2 separate regions of the Homo sapiens genome follow, and region 1 is linked to region 2. The links are contacts of gene promoters, found by promoter capture Hi-C in blood cells and fetal thymus (Javierre and others, 2016). All regions are on one chromosome and are shown on one strand. Each heading gives the region's core, a stretch centred on a gene start or on the middle of the fragment in contact. The rest is flanking DNA. Distances are from core to core; before and after follow the strand shown. Region 1 overlaps DYSF (dysferlin). Region 2 holds the start of PAIP2B (poly(A) binding protein interacting protein 2B).

The links. The method cuts DNA at HindIII sites, captures the fragments that hold promoters and counts their contacts. A CHiCAGO score of 5 or more calls a contact.
Region 1: a fragment that was not itself captured here is called in contact with the fragment with the promoter of PAIP2B in region 2 in 4 of 17 cell types (total B cells, erythroblasts, naive B cells and 1 more); the score reaches 10.2 in total B cells.

Annotation. Positions count from the first base shown.
Region 1 is chr2:71,507,278-71,511,584 of GRCh38, forward strand. All of the region lies in intron 4 of DYSF (dysferlin), which reads left to right. Among named protein-coding and RNA genes, the nearest start is that of DYSF, 43 kb to the left of the region's middle. RefSeq lists an enhancer at 1-277. The HindIII fragment of the contact is 1,358 bases long and covers 2,312-3,669 here.
Region 2 is chr2:71,225,431-71,230,070 of GRCh38, forward strand. It overlaps PAIP2B (poly(A) binding protein interacting protein 2B), which reads right to left and starts at 1,673. Exons shown (of 4, transcript NM_020459.1): 1 at 1,498-1,673. RefSeq lists enhancers at 1,103-1,603, 1,819-1,958. The HindIII fragment of the contact is 3,788 bases long and covers 1-3,750 here.

The DNA of each region.
Region 1 (4,307 bases), core at 1,741-4,240, 280 kb after region 2:
GTCAGAGGCCCAAGGGCAGCCCAGGTGTGGCCCCTTCAAGTTTTTGCTTCACTCTCCTCAGCTCAATGGGGTCCACTCAGACCGCTTGATTTAACACTGCAATCTGCAAAATGTCTCATTCCCCTGATCCTTCTTGCTCTGGTTTACTTTTTCTTTTCTTTCTAACATACTCTCTTCTTTATGTATTTATTTTGTTTATTATTTATTGTCTGTCTTCTCTGCCAAGACATCAGCTCCATGGGGGCAGGGACCTTTGCCTTATTTATGGAAGCGTCCCCAGAATCTTGAACAGTGTGTTTGGCCCTGGCAGGTGCCCAACACACAGGCACGTGTGCGCGCACACACACACACGTAGAGGGAATGAATATGTGAGTTAATGAATGAATGGGTCAGGCCAGACATGTCAGGCAGGGCCCTCAGTGTTCATCTTTCAGATGTGGGCCCAACTCAGGCCAAGTCAAACAAACACCCCCCACAGGCCTGGCCTCTGGGGCCACTGCACGGAGCCCTGCGCTCACAAGGGCCTCATGCTTGGCTTAATTCTCTTCTGTTTCCATCTTGAAATTCTTAAAGCTCACTGCATCCTTGACCTCCGGGGCTCAAGTAGGCTCAAGTGATCCTCTCGCCTCAGCCTCCTGAATAGCTGGGACTACAAGCATGGCTACCACGCCCAACTAGTTTTTGATTTTGGAATAAGGGGCTCTGCATTTTCATTTGTGCTGGGCTTGCACATTATGCAGCTGGTCCTGACCTCATGCTAATCTTGGAGGGCCGGAGTCAGCATGGATGGGCAGGGGGCTTTATTTGTCTCTGCCTAAGGAGATTCCTGTGGCTATTCCTAAAAAGAAGCAGATTTTCAAAACCTTTTATTTGGAAATATTTAAGATCTAGACAAAAGTTGCCAAGTATGGTACAAAGAGTATTTTGTCCTAAGCCATTTGACATGAGGGTGCCAACCTCCTGGCCCATCATTCTGAACTCGAGTGTGTGTTCTCCAGTTAAGGACTTTCTCCTACATAACCACAACACAGCCTTCCAAACGATGAAATTAACATGGACACAGCACTCTCGTCTAATCCCCAGACCCCAGTCGCGGCTCATCCATTTTTCCCAGTGTCCTTTGTAGCAGAAGGATCCCACTAAGGCTCATGTGTTGCACCTAGTTGTTTTGTTTCTTCAGTTTCCTTCCATTTGGAATAATTCCTCAGTCTTTCTTTGACTTTTATAACCTTGTAGCTGGATATTTTTTTGAAATTCCGGCCAATTATTTGTAGAATGTCCCCCACATTGGTTTTGTCTGATGTTTCCTGTGTTTAGATTTAGGCTGTGTGTCTTGGGTGTGAGTGTAACACTGATGCTGCGTGGCTGTCTTTGTGCCCTATCAGGTGGGATGATTGTGATTCGTTTGGTTACCACACTGTTAACTGTGATCATTTGATTACACTAGCATTTGCTGGGTGTCCCCGCTAATCGTTCATCTACTCCCCTTTCTCATGTCAGAATTTTGTGACTTTGTAATATCCTCTTTGTCATCTAACCTTTACCCGTGAGTTCTATGAGCTGTTGTTTTGTATTTGTATTTTTACTTTTTTTGAGACGGTATGTCACTCTGCTGCCCAGGCTGGAGTGCAGTGGCACGATCCTGGCTCACTGCAGCCTCCGCCTCCCGGGTTCAACCAATCCTCCCACCTCAGCCTCCCAAGTAGCTGGGATTACAGGGGCATGCCACCACACCTGGCTATTTTTTTTGTATTTTTATAGAGATGGGGGGTTTTACCATGTTGGCCAGGCTGGTCTTGAACCCCTGACCTCAGGTGATTCACCCACCTCGGCCTCCCAAAGTGCTGGGATTACAGGCGTGAGCCACTGTGCCCAGCCGTCATGAAGTGTTTTTGTTTTTGTTTTGAGACTGGTCTCATTCTGTTGCCCAGCTGGAATGCAGTGGTGTAATCATGGCTCACTGCAGCCTTGACCTCCCAGGCTCAAGTGATTCTCCCACCTCAGCCTCCTGAGTAGCTGGAACTATAAGCGTGGGCCACCATGCCTGGCTAATTTTTTGTTTTTTGTAAAGATGAGGGTCTCACTATGTTGTCCAGGCTGGTTTTGAACTCTGGGCTCAAGAAATCCTCCTGTCTCAGCCTCCCAAAGTGCTGGGATTATAGTTGTGAGCCACTGTACCTGGCCGTACCCAGGAGTTTTAATATCACTGCTGTTTCTTGGTTGAATTCATTATTGCTTTGATGATTGCTAAATAGTGATATTCTCAGTTATTTTTCCTGCATTAGTCAGTTGGCATTTCGTGGTCAGGAAAAGCTTTCTCCTCTCCTATTTATTTACTGTGGTATGGATTTGGGTATTTCTATTTTATTCAATTGTTTAATCTGTTACTGTTATTATGTATTTTCATGTTTCTATTGTCTCAGATTTGGCCTGTGGGAGCTCTTGAAAGTTGGCTTCTGTGTCCTTTTGACATGTTTTTACTTTTTATTATTTATTTATTATTTTATTTTATGTTTTTGAGGCAGAGTCTTGCTCTGTAACCCAGGCTGGAGTGCAGTGGTGTGATCGACTCATTGCGACCTCTGCCGCCAAGGTTCAAGCGATTCTCCTGCCTCAGCCTCCTGAGTAGCAGGGATTACAGGTGCATGCCACCACGCCTGGCTAATATGTTTGTATTTTTAGTAGAGATGGGGTTTCACCATGTTGGCCAGGCTGGTCTCAAACTCCTGACCTCAAGAGATCCGCCTGGCTCGGCCTCCCAAAGGGATTACAGGCATGAACCACCTCGCCCAGGCTCTTTTGATGTGTTTTTAAGAATCAGTCATTCATTGAGCATTTCCTTCCTTTCTGGTGCAAGAAGATGGTCCAGGCTCATCTTGTATCTTCCCTGCCCTAGCCCTGGAAGTAGTTATTTCTCCAAAGAGCCCAACTTACCTTTTGCTGAAGTGGAAGAAAGTCCCAGGACAGTTGTTAAAAGTGCAAATACCCAGGCCCACCCTAGACCTACTGAACTGGCATCTCTAGGAGTCAGGTGTGGCATCTGGGCGGAGGGGAGGACTTTCTTCTTTTCCCCTCCACGGGTTGCAGGAGCTGAAGGGACTGGCTGCTCACGTGGCGACACCTGGTGGTGATTCAGGAACCCACAGGGCAGGTTATGTTCATTCCTTGGGTGAGGGAATTCAAGGGTCTCAGTTGCCTTTGTTGACCTCCTCCTGGGTCTCCTGGGATGCTGAGCTAGCTCTTGTCTCCTTCCTCAGTGTTCTGAGCCCTGCTTTCCACCAGTGCTGCTCTCCTTAGTGTGGCTGTCCCCAGGCCCCAGTCTGGAGAGTTCAAGCTCAAGAGCTGAGTATGTCGGGAGCCTTCAGGCCCTTCTCTCTTGGGACTGAGTTTGCTCTGTGAGTCCCTGGACGTCCCTAACATCATTCAGCAGAAAGGTCCAGTGAACTGTGCCAGAGCCACTCAGAGGGACATTATGCCTCAGGAAAAATTGTGTTTATAAAGGGTTTGTCAAAACCTGGGGAGAGCTTATTGCCTGACATTCAGTAAAAGAAAATCATTTTGCATACAGCAGATCTGTCTACTATTTGTTTGAAAGATTGGAGAGAACTGGAATGTGGAGTCACGGAATTATGGACAATTGGTTTTCTTTTGCCTTATTTTTCCTCTTTAAGCTTTCTGTGCTTCCCAAACTTTCTTAGAGTATCCGTTGCACTAATTTGAGAGACTGGCTGCCCCAGGAGGCTTGCTGGACCTGTGGAGCCGGGACAGGGCTCAGGCAGGCCCGGGAGCAGCCAGGCTGCAGATCCTGCTGAGGTTGTGCCGTTCCCAGGTTCAGGGTGAGGGTTGGGGTGGGGTGGGCGCATGGGCAACCCGACCTCGCCTGTGAGGGATGTCACCAGTCCCTCTCCTCTCTGGCCGGTGCAAGCCGGGGCAGCTGAGGATGTGCTGGGGGGCAGGAAGGAAGAGGGCTCTGCAAGCCTGGCAGCACACTGAGACCCTCTCAGTGCTAGCTGCAGCCTGAGCAAAGCAGAGCAAAGCTGAGTTGTCCCTGGAGAAGTAGGGGCAAGCCATTGACTGAGCAGAGTGGCCAAAGGGACATTTTCCTGAAGACAGGCCAAGTGGATAGTGGGAAAAATCCTGCAGGTGAGGTTGGATCCCTGATTCATTTGCAGAAGTCCACTACGTGCTACATCAACTAATTTGCTCCACATTTGACCTGTGAGGAAGGTGCTATTGCTATGACTAACCCCAATTTTATAGATGAGGAAACTGAGGCACAGGGCGGTCACAGATCTTGCCTAAGGTCA
Region 2 (4,640 bases), core at 423-2,922:
GTTAAACTCATAGCTTACATTTCTCCACTGAAAGCTAGGAAAAACAATTCCAATTTTTGAAAAGTCAGGAAACTAAGCACTGTGAGAATTTACAAGATTTTGTAAACCTGTATATTCTCCCCACCCCGATATACAAGTAGCCAGAGGAGCCTATCAGTCTTACCCCAACACTTCAATCTCCTCCAACCTTCAAAATAAAACCCTCACTGTCCAATATCTGAATTTATATTTTCAAACGTCTAAAATCTTAATCAAAGCTAAGAGCAGTGCATTAGCTTTTCCCCATAAAATTGTTGGCATAATTTTACTTAGGCACAGCATAGTTTGTACTGTTATCAAAAAACATATGGCTAGAACCGACATTACTAGAAACCAAACGAATATACTATGAAGGTGAAAAGGGAACAGGGAATGTTGTTTTTGGACAGATTCAATGCTGTTATTATCCCTTCATAGGTTGGGTGTGATCGAATCACACTGTGCTGTACAACTAAGTATGTTCTATATTTTATGACAAAGTAGGGTAGCCAGGCCCTTACACTACAAACTCCCAGAAACCCCAGTTAAGCTGTTTAAAGTATAATCCAATTCAATTTACTGAAAATAATAGTAACAAAATTTAAATCCCTTGCTTCTAGTTAGCCCTTTTCAACTGCATTTTCAGCAATTACCACCAAAAGAACTGCATTAGGACAAAGATTCTAGAGCGGGTATAATGGTCAAATGCCATTTGAAGGCAAAAACAGTCTACCAGGAACAAAACATTAAAGTTCCCAACCTTGCCAAACTCCCTGTTCTGCGTATTCTGCCTCTCTCAGTTCACCTTCCAGCTGCCTGGAAGAGGCAAGTGGAAAATGTTAGTTTTCTGGAGAGATGAGAATGGAATTTAGGGGTTGGTAGGGGGTGATGGGCTCACTCACGGACCGCAAGGCACAAGAGAAGTGGCGAACGTCTCCCAGGCAAATGAGGCATGAAGAATGAGGGCTGGAGTCAAGGGGGAGATGGAGCAAGTATAAAAAGGCAGAGGACGCGCAGGGGCCGCGAATAGGGGAAGGGCACGACGCGCAATCCCTCCCGCTCCAGCCCGGGGAGAGGGGCGGGGGATGCCGCGCGGGTCAATTTGCCTAGCATTGTTGCACCTGGGTAGAAATGGGACTCAGGCCAAGAATTCGGTTCGAGTGTTAGGAGGACGCTGAGGGGAGTCAGGAACTTGGGTGGGAGTCGGGGGGAAACAGAGCACCTGTGCGGGGGGGAAAGGGACGAAAACCCCCTATTGCTCCCGAGGGGCAGGGGCTGACCCCAGCGGACGCCCCTTTTCGCCGATGGCCGCGACGTGGGACCCCGCGCGCTTTCCCTCCCTACAGGAGCTCGGGCAGGCGCGTGCCGCCCTTCACAGCCCCGACGGCGGCAGAAAGGGAGGCGCAGGGCGCCCCCAGAGCCGGGAGAACGGCGTTTCCCTCGAGTCCTTTCCCCAGCAGCCCGGGCACCCGAGCCCACCTGGGCTAACCAGAAGCCCCTCCTTCAGATCGTACTCTGCCACTCCTCCGAGAGCTTAAGCCGTTGCCGTAGAGGTCGCCGTCGCCACAACAGTCTCGGCCTTTAGTACCAAAACGTGAAGCACAGCACCCGAGAAGCGCCACTACCACTTGCCAGGTTATCTCTTACTGCACACTGCCTCCTCGCCCCGCCCCCGAACCCAAGCCATTGGTTGCCGGGCACCGCCCCATTCGTCTATTGGGCCAAAGAAGATGCCGTTCGGTCACCTAGAATGGCATATGTGGTTTTTATTGGTCTAAATGTGAAGCAGTGCCCGCCCACTCCCTCAGAAGTTTCAGCTTCTGATTGGTTTTAATGTCTGTCTTTTCTCTTCCTTCATTTTTTTTTTCCTGTGGTGGAACACCTCCTTGAGGGAGATGCCGGCTCTGATTGGCTGAAAGGACGCTACGCTAGCCTGGGATAGGCATTGGGCCAAGGATGCGCCCGGCCCACTCGTGGGGGAGGAGACCAAGGCGCCGCACTCTGGGTTTGTTTACACAGGCTCTTGCTCCCGCTTCGTCTATTGGCTGAGCTGGAAGCCACTGCCACCGAGTTTTGCCTGTCAGCCTAGCAAGGAGGAGGGTGGGGGTGGGCCTCAGTAGGATTTCCCTCAGCTGTCAATTACCAAAGGAGGAGCTTTGATTCAGGCTGCTTTGGACCTGGTGCTATTCTCTGTAGGGAAAATTAAGGAATTGGGCTCCTTGGGAGGCTGGAAGGAAGCAAAGGGACGCTGGAAGGAAGCAGACGGATGCTTCCACGTTTCTAGAAACAAACCTAACTTCTTGAGTGCTTTAAAAAAATAAAACTTGGCCGGGCGCGGTGGCTCACGCCTGTAATCCCACCACTCTGGGAGGCCGAGACGGGCGGATCACAAGGTCAGGAGTTCTAGACCAGCCTCGCCAGTATGGTGAAACCCCGTCTCTACTAAAAATGCAAAAATTAGCTGGGCGTGGTGGCGGGCTCCTGTAGTCCCAGCTACTCGGGAGGCTGAGGCAGGAGAATCACTTGAACCCGGGAGGCAGAGGTTGCAGTGAGCCAAGATCGCACCACTGCACTCCAATCTGGGCAATAGAGTGAGGTTGCGACTCAAAAAAAAATACATCAATAAATACAAATTAAAATAAAACTTTATTGCCTCCCTTGGATTTAGAATGTCCAATCTGCTTGCAAAGGACTTCGAATTGTATTCCACAGGAAGTAGGGATTTCTTTGTGGAGCTCTTACTTTATACATTTTTCTCTCCCCCCCACCTCTCAAGCTGACTGTATACATGACACAAAGTTAGGGAATTGCAGAATGAATGGAAAAAATATAAAAATGAAAAAGATAAACTCAAATAACAATTATAAATATTAGCTGTATACTTTGATATGGTTTGGCTCTGTGTCCCCACCCAAATCTCATTTTGAATTATAATTCCCAATGTTGGGGGAGGGACTTGGTGGGAGGCGATTGGATCATGGGGGCAGATTTCCCCCTTGCTGTTCTCGTGATAGTGAGTGAGTTCTCACAAGGTCTGATGGTAAAAAAAGTGTGTGTCCTTCCCCCTTAGCTCTCTCTCCCTCTTGCTACCATGTGAAAACGTGCTTGCTTCCCCTTTGCCCTGATTGTAAGTTTCCTGAGGCCTCACCAGCCATGCCTCCTGTACAGCCTGAGGAACGGTGAGTCAATTAAACCTCTTTTCTTTATAAATTACTCAGTCTCAGGTAGTTCTTTATAGCAATGTGAGAATGGACTAATACATACTTCATATTAAATGATATAAGTAAATAAATAAATTCATTCAACAAGTATTATTTAGCATCTACTATGAATGTTCTAGGCTCTGATCATGGAACTGGGTATATGATATGAATAAGACAGTGAAGATGCACCCATGGTGTTTATACTGTAGTGAAGGAGACTGACAACAGAAAAGTAACCAATAAATAATAAAATGGTATGTTGTGAATAAATGCTACAAAGGAAAATAAAGCAGAGTCATGGGATGGTTGGGGAAATGGCTATTTTAAGTAGGATGGTTAGTTTAAGAGCTGTTTGAGGAAACAGCACTGAACAGAGATGTGAATAATGTGAAGAAGTGAAGAGTGGGAAGGGGCTAATAAGCAGAGCCACTACAGTGCACAACTCCAGGATCACTATTCACATTGCTCCATGTATTTTGAAGTTGTGTATTAGGTGTACATCCATTTAGGGCTGCCAACTCTGGTTTAAAGCTTTATTTGATTACATAATTTAAATGACGCCTGCAAGAAACATGTGTCTTTTAGAAAAAAAAAAATCTCTCTCTAGGATAGCATCCCCATACCCTCCACTGCTTCTTTCCCTGAATTGGCCTTCCGGTGTATGATGAGAGAAAGTTTACACAATCTCATAGGTTTGAAAAACAGGCTCTTCTGGTCCACGTGGTGTCCTTGAGCAGTCAGAAATACTCCTTGAGGATGAACCTTTATTACCAGGATAGCAATGGGATGTAAGGAAGGGTTGATGAACTTCTCTCGTCTCACTTCCTACCACTGGTGCCATCTATTATAAATTCATGGCTGGCTATTACCAGTGATAAAGAGAAAAGTCTTAAAAGCAGGCAGAAAAAAAATATGGCCATTTTAAGTAGAATGGTTAGTTTAAGAGCTGTTTGAGGAAAGACCATTGAACAGAGATGTGAAGAAGTGAAGAGCAGGAAGGGGCTGGGAAACATACAGAGGGGAAAAAATAGATAAGAATTACAGCAAATTTCTTATCAGAAACTATGGAAGCCAAAAGACAATGAAGGAATGAGGTAGCAATGTGGGTATCTGGTGGTGGTGGGCAGGGACAGATATGAGACAAAAACCAGTCATAAAGTTGTAGGAGATGATGTCAATGAGAGGGAGGGAGGCAAGAGAAGCCCATCACCCTTCCCCACATCCTATTGCTATTAGGGCAATAAATCTTCAACCTTGAAGATTACATCATTTCATTTTTTAAAATTTAATTGTGGTAAAATATATATAAAATTTACCATCTTAACTATTTTAAGTGTACAGTTCAGTTACAGTAAGTACATTCACATTTTTGTGCAATCATCACCACAATCCACCTGCAGAACATTTTCATCATTCCTA